Linked DNA regions of Homo sapiens: all the other regions are linked to region 1. The links are contacts of gene promoters, found by promoter capture Hi-C in blood cells and fetal thymus (Javierre and others, 2016). All regions are on one chromosome and are shown on one strand. The core of a region is centred on a gene start or on the middle of the fragment in contact, and the rest is flanking DNA. Distances in the headings are between cores, read along the strand shown.

What was found. Contacts are between HindIII fragments. The CHiCAGO score rates a contact against its expected background, and 5 or more counts as called.
Region 2: a fragment that was not itself captured here is called in contact with the fragment with the promoter of ATE1 in region 1 in 1 of 17 cell types (activated CD4 T cells); the score reaches 5.9 in activated CD4 T cells.
Region 3: a contact is called between a fragment that was not itself captured here and the fragment with the promoter of ATE1 in region 1, in 1 of 17 cell types (M2 macrophages). The highest score is 6.6, in M2 macrophages.

What each region holds. Positions count from the first base shown.
Region 1 is chr10:121,926,781-121,930,117 of GRCh38, forward strand. It overlaps ATE1 (arginyltransferase 1), which reads right to left and starts at 1,251. Exons shown (of 12, transcript NM_001001976.3): 1 at 1,064-1,251. The coding sequence starts at 1,169. It also overlaps the pseudogene ATE1OSP. RefSeq lists enhancers at 463-612, 1,151-2,017 and silencers at 923-1,342, 1,533-1,832. The HindIII fragment of the contact is 6,802 bases long and covers 1-3,337 here.
Region 2 is chr10:122,872,221-122,875,928 of GRCh38, forward strand. All of the region lies in intron 1 of FAM24B (family with sequence similarity 24 member B), which reads right to left. The region is part of intron 1 of FAM24B-CUZD1 (FAM24B-CUZD1 readthrough); the gene reads right to left. Among named protein-coding and RNA genes, the nearest start is that of FAM24B, 5.5 kb to the right of the region's middle. RefSeq lists an enhancer at 3,570-3,708. The HindIII fragment of the contact is 1,007 bases long and covers 1,491-2,497 here.
Region 3 is chr10:120,944,668-120,948,582 of GRCh38, forward strand. All of the region lies in intron 2 of LOC105378519 (a long non-coding RNA gene), which reads right to left. Among named protein-coding and RNA genes, the nearest start is that of WDR11, 95 kb to the left of the region's middle. The HindIII fragment of the contact is 164 bases long and covers 1,374-1,537 here.

The sequences.
Region 1 (3,337 bases), core at 1-2,500:
GTAATCATGTCGCATAAGCCATTTGCATCCTGTTGATTTTCTCCGTTTAAGTCCAAACTGGAAGCATTTTTCCATTTAGTCTTCATAATCCTCACTTCTAACGATTGCATAACTGTCTACTCAAAACCGCTGCCCACAAGTAGCACTTAATAAACACTTTTAATGAAGGAGCAAATGCACACACCGTTATCGACCAAATCATTCCCCACTTACACCTTTTTCATGGAAAATGCCTGTGTGTTTTCATGCGAATCTCGTTTTCCACAAAGCTAGACTGTTCTATTAAAATAATAGAGTCTACATTCTATATTGGCAAATGCATGGCAAGAGAGGAAATAAACACGATGTTTTGTTTACCAGCAACAAATCTCCCCCAAAGAAATCTGAATCACGATGGAAAAACAAAACAAACTTGTGGGCTGGCTTTGCTGTCGTCCGGGTGGGTGGAGGAAAGACACGGCATATAAGCAAATGGTAAAAATTTCAAACAGATCAGGACAAACAGAATCCCTCGCCGGTAGCGACCGCGGTCACCAGTTTCTTGTCCTTTTTTTTTTTAACTTTTTTTTTTTTTAACCCAGAGATGCAAAGGGCTCATCCTTCCTGTACATTCGTCCAGGGAAGTCTGATTCATACATGACCGGCACCTGTGTGCACACCCACAGCTCCCTCTGCACCGCGTTTCGCCCTCGCTCCCGGGACGCTCCCACCGCAGCACCCACCGGTCAGCCCCGGCCATTAACTACGGCTCTGGGGCGTTCCCTGGCACTGCGCGCCGTCCTTCACCTCACACAATCTACCCCAGACGGGCGTCCGTCTCCCGACTCTGGGGAGACCACCACGATTTCGAGAGTACGGGCACCGGTTAGGATTTTCCTGCAGAACAGGCACCGCGAAGCTGCCCCGCTAAGCCGGCGCCGCGGCCCTCCCGAGAGTGCCCCCTCCGTCTCGGCCGTGGCACTGGGGCCAGGGGCTCCGGCCCCCTCGCGTCCTCGCTGGGGGACCCTGGGATCCCGAGACCCGGGCGCCCGGCTTCCCACGCCCGCCGGCCCGGCTCGCTCACCATTGGAGCGGCTGCCCGACTCGTTCTTGCAGTAGCCGCAGCGGTAGAAGTCCTCGCTAGGGAAATAGTCCACGACGCTGGGCGAACCCCCCGCCCAGAAAGCCATGGCCTCGGCCCCGCGAACGCTCAGCCGCCCGGCCCCGCGTCGCTAGCGCGGCCGCCGCCGCCACCCCACAATGCAGCGCGCCGCCCGGGAGCCTCCCGAGGCTCGCGCGAAGCCACTCGGGCGCCCGCAGGCCCGGCCGGCCCGGCGCCTCTTGGAGCTGACGCCGCCCGCGCCATCTTGACCGAGGGCAGCTTTCCACTATTTCCGTTCCTTCTCCATAAGGGGCCGCCGTCGTCAGTGAGGGTGAGGCGGAGAGACAGAGCGGGAAGGGAAACAGGATGGGGAGAGTCAAGAGGGGAAGGGAAGCGGGAGTCGGGGTGCGAGCCTGCCCTTTCCCCCGCCGAGGGCCTGTGCGGGGCGCGGCGGCCGCGCCAACTCCGGCGTCGGGAACACTCACCGCAGGACGCTTTGCCCTCCTTGGAATCGCAGTAGCCGCAGTGGTAGCCGGCCCTGAGGCCCTTGTATTCCACCACCGACGCCATGGCCGCCGCGAGGGTCCGCTCGGGCCGACCACGCCTCTTGGCGCCCGGGGCCGACCTCGGCGAAGCGCTGGGGCCCGCGGCGGGAGGGGTGGAGAGCGAAGCCTGGCGCGGGGACCCGTGGGCGGGGATGGTGGTCGTGTCCCCAAGCCCTGCGTTTGGGCCGGTGCTTCCCACAGCTGTGCGTTATCAGCCCCATTTCACAGGTAAGGAAACTGAGGACCGGAGGTTGTGATTATCCCAAAGTCATTCCCGGCGGGTCTCGGATTGAAAGTCAGGCCGCCCCTGGCCACCGTGTAAGTGACTTGCTGGAGCTGCTTCCAGACCAGCTGGCACGCACTCCAGTGCCCTGAATACAAGAACACAAGCAGGTATTCCGTGAATGGCGAGGGTTCGCAAATTAAAGAACTCTTAACGGCTTTTAAAGGAAACAACTGTCAGCTAGAGACAGTTGCTGTCTTGTACCACTATAAGTCCGGTGCCTCATACGATTTTTAATGAGATGCTGGAAATACAGGGTTTGTTTGTTTTTTTTAACTCTACAGTCCAAACAAAACAGTTTTACAGGCTGAATCCAGCCCATGGGCCTCCATTTTGCAACCACTATTTTAAGGAAGATTTAAGGAATAAGAGTCTAGGGCAAAATATAAAATTGAGGCTCATGCCTGTAATCCCAGCACTTTGGGAGGCCGAGGCGGGCGTATCATGAGGTCAGGAGATTGAGACCATCCTGGCTAACACGTGAAACCCCGTCTCTACTAAAAATACAAAAAATCAGCCTGGCGTGGTGGTGGGCGCCTGTAGTCCCAGCTAGTCGGGAGGCTGAGGCAGGAGAATGGTGTGAACCCGGGAGGCGGAGCTTGCAGTGAGCCGAGATCACGCCGCTGCACTCCAGCCTGTGTGACAGAGCAAGACTCCATCTCAAAAAAATTTTTTAAAAAATGAGTTCCAGGGGCGGGCGCGGTGGCTCACGCCTGTAATCCCAGCACTTTGGGAGGCCGAGGCGGGTGGATCACGAGGTCAGGAGATAAGAGACCATCCTGGCTAACATGGTGAAACCCCTTCTCTACTAAAAAATACAAAAAATTAGCGGGACGTGGTGGCACGCGCCTGTAGTCCCAGCTACTCGGGAGGCTGAGGCAGGAGAATGGCGTGAACCCGGGAGGCAGAGCTTGCAGTGAGCAGAGATCGCGTCACTGCACTCCAGCCTGGGCGAAAGAGCGAGACTCCATCTCAAAAAAAAAAAAAAAGAGTTCCAACAAGGTAATATGCCTTATCTTTCCCTCTGCGTGCACAGATAATTTAAGCCTGTCTGTCCTCATAGTTTTCCCAGTCAACAATAAAGCTGATGATACAATATTGTTTTAAGTGTGTTTAAAAAAGTGAAATGAAACTCAGAGAAATAGAAATAAATTTTTGAGGTGAGTTTTGACATTCTTGACCCCAAGGGCCTGTGTTAGATATGTACCTAGCTGAAGGAGGTTTCTTGGTGGCCTGGTGACTTGTTGAAGGGGGCCAGCCCCTCCACACCTGTGGGTGTTTCTCGTCAGGTGGGACGAGAGACTGAGAAAAAAAGTAAGACACAGAGACAAAGTGTAGAGAACAGTGGGCCCAGAGGACCAGGGCTCAGCATACGGAGGACCCGCGCCAGCACTGGTCTCTGAGTTCCCTCAGTATTTATTGATCACT
Region 2 (3,708 bases), core at 744-3,243, 950 kb after region 1:
CAAAACCACAATGAGATACCACCTCATACCAGTTAGAATGGCAATCAGTAAAAAGTCAGGAAACAACAGGTGCTGGAGAGGATGTGGAGAAACAGGAACACTTTTACACTGTTGGTGGGACTGTAAACTAGTTCAACCATTGTGGAAGTCAGTGTGGCGATTCCTCAAGGATCTAGAAGTAGAAATACCATTTGACCCAGCCATCCCATTACTGGGTATATGCCCAAAGGATTATAAATCATGCTGCTATAAAGACACATGCACACATATATTTATTGTGGCATTATTCACAATAGCAAAGACTTGGAACCAACCCAAATGTCCAACAATGATAGACTGGATTAAGAAAATGTGGCACATATACACCATGGAATACTATGCAGCCATAAAAAATGATGAGTTCATGTCCTTTGTAGGGACATGGATGAAGCTGGAAACCATCATTCTCAGCAAACTATCGCAAGGACAGAAAACCAAACACCGCATGTTCTCACTCATAGGTGGGAATTGAACAATGAGAACACATGGACACAGGAAGGGGAACATCACACTCTGGGGACTGTGGTGGGGTGGGAGGAGGGGGGACGGATAGCATTAGGAGATATACCTAATGTTAAATGACGAGTTAATGGGTGCAGCACACCAACATGGCACATGTATACGTATGTAACAAACCTGCATGTTGTGCACATGTACCCTAAAACTTAAAGTATAACAATACAAAAATAAAATAAAATAAAAAAAGAACAGGTTGAAGCTAATAGAGGTCAGTTCATGAGGTTTAAAAAATAAACCATCTCCATAACATAAAAGTGCAAGGTGTAACAGGAAGGTACAGCAAGTTATCTAGAAGCTGCTCTAGCTAGGATAATTCATGAAGGTGGCCACATTTAACAATGGATTTTCAGTATAGATGAAAACAGACTTCTATAGGACAAAGATGCCCTCTAGGACTTGCACAGCTAGAGAGGTCAACGCCTGGCTTCAAAGCTGATTCTGACTCAAAAGTCAGGCTGACTTTGTTGCTGGGGACTAATATAGCTGATGATTTCAAGTTTAAGCCAACGCTCATTTACCATTCTGAAAATCCTAGGGCTCTTAAGAATTATGCTAAATCTGCTCTGTCTTTGCTTTATAAATGGAACAACAAAACCAGGATGACAACACATTGGTTTACTGAATATTTTAAGCTCCCTGCTGTGACCTCCTGCTCAGAAAAAAGTTCCTTTCAATACATTAGTGCTAACTGATGCTTGGCCAGGGCCACCCAAGAGCTCGGATGGTGATGTACAAGGAGATTAATGTTTTCATGTCTACCAACACAACATCCATTCCGCAGCCCATGGATCAAGGAGTAATTTCAACTTTCAAGTCTTATTGTATAAGAAATACATTTCATAAGGCTTTAGTAGCCATAGATAGCAATTTCTCACAGTATCTCTTAGGTGTGCCTATATATTGCTCTTCTTTCTCTAGTTTCTTAAGGTGAAAGCTTACATAATAGATTTTAGATCATTCTTTTCCAACATGTACTCAGTACTCTCCGTTTCCCTGTAAGCACTGCTCTTGTTGAATTCTACAAATTCTGATGAATTGTATTTTCACTTTCATTTAGTTTGAAATATTTTTAAATTTCTCTTGAAACTTCGAGCCAAGTGTTATTTTAGAAATATGTCTGTTAATCTCCAAATATTTTAGGATTTTTCAAGTATTTTCCTGTTACAAATTTCTAATTAAATACCATTGTGATCTAGGAACATACTTTGTATAATTTCTATTCTTTTACATTTGTTAAGGGGTGTTTTATGGCCTAGAATGTGCTCTATCTTGGTAAATGTTCTAGGAGTGTTTCAGAAAAATGTGTATTCTGCTATTGTTGACGTGTCCTATTAATACCAATTAGATCCAGTGGACAGATGGTACAATTCAGTTCAACTATATTCTTACTGATTTTCTGCATGCTGAAACTGTCAATTACTGATCCAGGGTTGTTGAAGTCTCCAAGAGTAATAGTGAATTTGTCTATTTCTCTTTGCAGTTCTATCAATTTTTGCTTCACATATTTGATGCTCTGTTGTTAGGTACATATACATTAAGGATTTTATTTTGCCTTCATTTATTCCTTCTCTGATGCTCTTCCTTTATATAGATCCAAGTTCATGACCTTGGATCATTTTCCTTCCCTCTGGAGAACTTATTTTAATATTTTTTGCAACACAGGTTTATCACTGACAAATTTCCTTAGCTTTTGTTTAAGAAAATCTTTAAGTCTCCTTCACTTCTGAAAGGTAATTCTTGTGGATACATTCTAGGTTGGTGTGATTTCTCTTTCAACATTGTAAATATTTCACTCCAGTCCCTTCTTGCTTGGTTTCTAATCAGAAATATAATTCTTTTCTTGTTCCTCTATAGCATGTATTTTTTCCTCTGGCTCCTTTCAATGACTCTTTGACTTTGGTTTTCCCATCTTGAATATAATATGCCTAGGTACAGACTAAGCTTGTCCAACCTACAGCCTGCGGGCTGTATACGGCCCTGGACGGCTTTGAATGCAACCCAACACAAATTTGTAAACTTTCTTAAAACAGCATGAGGTTTTTTTTGCAATTTTTAAGCTCATCAGCCATTGTTAGCGTTACTGCATTTTATGTGTGGCCCAAGACAATTCTTCTTTTCCCAGGGTAGCCCAGGGGCACCCCTGGTACAGACCTTTTAGTATTTATCTTGCTTGGTGTTCTCCAAGCTTCCTGCTCTAAGAACGGGTTTGGTGTCATTAATTTTGGATAATTCCCAACCATTATTTCTCACATATTTCTTCTACTCTCTTCTCTTTCTTCTACTTCTGGTATTACCATTATACATGTTATTACAAGTTTTATAACTGTCCAGCAGTTCTTGGATAGTCTACTTTTTCATCTCTATTTTCTTTGCTTTTCAGTTTTTATTAACAGTTCTTCAAGCTCATTTATTCTTTGGCCTGTCCAGTCTCCTGATAAACCCATCAAAGGCATTCATTTGTCACATTGTTTTTTGACTTCTATCATTTCCTTTTATATCTTCCTTAGAGTTTCCATATCTCTGCTTACATTACCCATTCACTCTTGTATGCTATCTGCTTTTTCCATTAGAGCCCTTATATATCAATCATAGCTACCTTAAATTCCCTACTTGAGAATTACAAAATCTGCATCATATGTAAGAATGGTTCTGATATTTCCTTTGTTTCTTGTTCTTTCTTGCCTTTTACCGTGCTTTGTAAATCTTTGTTGAAAGCCAGACATAATATATCTGGAAGAATATATAGAAACTGAGGTAATCAGGCTACTTGATTCATGTCAATCTGACTAGAAGTTAGGCTGTGTTTAATGTTTGCTGTAGTTATCAGTGTCAGAGGCTTCAATCTACTATTCTTGCTTTGAGTTTCCACATTGTCATTGTCTTTGGGTATCCCCAGAGACTCCTTTTAAATAAAATGTAGTCTGATAATAATTGGTCACAGCTGGCACTAGGGAAAGGCAGTCTCCTAATTAAAAAAAAAAACCCTGAAACTGGTGATCAACGGCTTGCCGATAAGATCTCAGGAGTTGGACAAGTGGGTTCAAGCATGTGCACTAAGAGGCAAAATGGCAGAGTTTAACTGGTATATGACCTTCTAAGAACATTTGATGGGTAAGAGAAGAATGCTTCAAGTGAGCATGCATACAACTC
Region 3 (3,915 bases), core at 206-2,705, 980 kb before region 1:
AATGATGGACCCAGGGAGAGAGGCCCACACAAACCTGGAGGTTGGCTCAGGGTTCCAGGTATCCGTGACTCTAAAAGGCAGGGTACAGGATCCAGGGGAAGCCCATCCCCAGCCCCAGGGACCCCTTGCCCTAGATAGGGCATAGCCTGATGAGACAGAGCAGGCCCCACCCCTGCCCACCAGGGCTCCTTGCTGGCCAGTGGGAGGTGGAGGCCTTAGAGTTATAAGGAGCTGTCAGGTTGGTCCCACTGAAGCCACACTGGCTTTGGGCCCCTGGGAGCCTGACTGTGAGGCCTTTCTGAAACCTCAGGTAGGCCTGACAGACAGACAGGGCTGCAATCCAGGGCTGAGCGCCTGCCTGGAGATGGGGCTCCAGGAGGGACTGGGAGGGCTGCCTGGAGGCGGGGGCTGTTAAAATGCAGCTCTCTGGGCCCTGCACCAGCCCTTCTGAATCAGTGGAGCTGGACATCTATGTTTTAACAAGACCCTCCTTCCCAAGGATTCTAACACAACACTAAAGTGTGAGAAGCACAGCTTGGAAACATTTTGTTTTATTCATGCAGTCAACAGATATCCACAGAACATCCCCTCCCTTGGCACTCTCAGTTTCCTGTCCCCTGCAGCCAACAGGAAGTCAGCTCTTCCCCACAGATTCTCTCCCTCCTCAAGTTTCAATTCAATTTCACCTCCTCAGGGGCACCTTTTCCAAAATGGCTGCCATCTCCCGGCCCTCAACACCACATCCCCTCTCCTAGCTCCTTCTTGGCCTTTACCACTGGTGCAGATGAGCTTCTTGGAGTATTTATTTTACTCATTGCCATGCCTCCCCCTCTAGAATATAACCCCTTCCCCAGGGCCAGGGCCTGATACATGGGAATCATTCCTTTACTGCAGTGTTGCTGGGATATAATATGCCCATAAACCTACTGAGTATTTGATGAATGATGAATAAGGCCGCTACCACTCAGCAATTCATTCATTGCCTCTTCCCACAATGGGACAATGGGGCAGGTGCCTTTTGGATAAAGAGGGAAGGTGTAGGTGGCGGAAGCCTCCGAGCTCTGAAGACCCTGCATGGCTGTCTGCCCGCCCCTCCATGAAAGGGGCAGCTCTCCCAGGAAAGAGAGGAAGAGAGGCCAAGAGAGCTCACAAATGGGTGTCTTCTCTTGTGAGGAAGGATTCGGGGCTCAACACGCTTCCTGGGGCTGGGTCTGTACAGGTAGAAGGAAGAGGCCCAGTTGGCTCCAAGCCTGGGCCAGCCCCAGCCCTGCAGCCTGGCGGTGTGCAGGCACCCTCACTTCAGAACATGCTTGTATGCACTTGCTCTTCTGGCACGCCATGAACTGTTTCTTGGCTGCCTTGTTAGGAGATTAAGCTTTCTCTAAAAAGATGAAAAAAAAAATCTCTAGCAAAGGCCTGACTAGAGCTGACCCCCGAGGAGGCGGTGGCAATAACTGATGGGCACTACATTTGTCTAATTAATCTTCTTGTCAACAAAGTTGTTCTTTGCCGGTGCCAGCTCTGACATCATCCTGCAAGCTTGCCACACTGGTTCATATGCAGTTACAAAGGCTGCCTGTGACCCAGCACTACACTCCCTAACCACCCCCAACACGCTGCTGCCTGGAAATGGGTGGATGAGAACAGAGATGTCACACAGCTGCTGGCTTAGAAGGGGCACCGGGGAATCACAGCTTGAATGAAAGTTGGATAAAGATCTGGAAGGTTCAGGGGATCCCCAGGCTGGAAGGAGCCTGGTTTCTAAATAGGACACCGATGCCGACCATCTTTTTCAAGTTAAACTTTGGAAAGTTCCATTTGCCATGCAAACTACCCTTGCCCTGGATGGGTTGCCCCAAGAGTGACCCAGGAAAGTTTAGGTGGTAAAGTTGCAAAATCAAGTGGCTTCAGGGCCCAGGCAGAGATTTCACTTTCAGTGCCCTGGGATGAAATCTCTGGATGTCCACGAGGCTGACCTGGACTTCCCGGATTGGGAGGCCTTGTGGTCAAAAGCCGAGTCCAGTCCTGAACACCAGATCTAAATGTTCAAGAAGACTGTGCAGATTTACAGGCTAAATCAGAGTCCCTGGTAGCTGTTTCCGACCTCTGTATGGGGCTTTTAGAGTGAACTGTGGTCTCATCCAGGCGTTTCCCGACCATTGCATCCCACACAGGGCCTCCCTTCTGATTTTATCGTTAGTCTCTCTCCCTGTTGATTTCCTCCAAGTGCTCATCACTGTCCACACTCACCCTGTTTATTTCTGCTCACCGATCTGGCTTTTTAATCGAGGAGTCTGTGAATAAAATCTGGAGGAGGGGGGTCTATGAACTTGGACAGGAAAATATTTATATCATTATTTTCACTGTCTGAGATTTAACAATTTACTCAATTATGAAAATCGGCAACAAGCCACAGTGTATTAGCAGTGTCTGTGACTTTGTCTCCAACAGAAATCACAGCTGTTTTTCTATCACGTCGTAGTTGATGCAGTTATCTCAAAATATCAGCTGGGCTAATCACTATTTTGAAATGACTGTAGTTAATAGATTGGTCTGTAGATCCTGTTACATCCTCTATCAACGAAGAACATATACGAGTATAGCACCACTTAAAAATATTTTGATAACTGCATGACAGTATAATCGGTTTGTTTCATAATCCTGTGTATCTTAATTTATGCTTTTTTCAAATATTCTGGCCTCATGAGACTGGCAAGAAAGACTGTAAGCCATCTTTTCTGTTACTTTTTCTTTCTTTCTTTCTTTCTTTTTTTTTTCTATTTTTGAGACGGAGACTCTCACTCTGTCACCCAGGCTGGAGTGCAGTGGTGATCTCGGCTCACTGCAACCTCCGCCTCCCGGGTTCAAGCGATTCTCCTGCTTCAGCCTCCCGAGTTCTCTTTTCTATCCTTAGCCCCGACCTTGGGTTCTGGCACACAGTAAGTGCTCAAGACAATATTATTGACTGAATTAATGAAGGAACCACTGAACAAATGAATTAAATAAGTGAACTGAACAAATGAACATGAGCCTTAACGTGGCCGTGGGTCCACGTCCATGGACCCACGTATTCTGGAAGGTGCAGAAGTTTCCACGACCCTTTGCCACCTGAGCTTCTGTCTGTGCGACATCCACACTACCCACCAGGAGAGACGGGGGTCTTGCTACCTCCACTAAGAACAGTAGGAACAGCTCAGAGCTGACCACGGCGTCCCCACTAAACAAGACTCCACCGGCCCATTGCCTTTTTTGCTCCAGCCACACGGGCCTCCGGAGACCAGAGCTGGAGATAAGGGGATGATCCTTTTTTTTTTTTTATATTATACTTGAAGTTTTAGGGTACATGTGCACAACGTGCAGGTTTGTTACATATGTATACATGTGCCATGTTGGTGTGCTGCACCCATTAACTCATCATTTAGCATTAGGTATATCTCCTAATGCTATCCCTCCCCCCTCCCCCCACCCCACAACAGTCCCCAGTGTGTAATGTTCCCCTTCCTGTGTCCGTGTGTTCTCATTGTTCAATTCCCACCTATGAGTGAGAACATGCGGTGTTTGGTTTTTTCGTCCTTGTGATATTTTGCTGAGAATGATGGTTTCCAGTTTCATCCATGTCCCTACAAAGGACATGAACTCATCATTTTTTATGACTGCATAGTATTCCATGGTGTATATGTGCCACATTTTCTTAATCCAGCCTATCGTTGTTGGACATTTAGGTTGGTTCCAAGTCTTTGCTATTGTGAATAGTGCCGCTATAAATATACGTGTGCATGTGTCTTTATAGCTGCATGATTTATAATCCTTTGGGTATATACCCAGTAATGGGATGGCTGGGTCAAATGGTATTTCTAGTTCTAGATCCCTGAGGAATCGCCACACTGACTTCCACAATGGTTGAACTAGTTTACA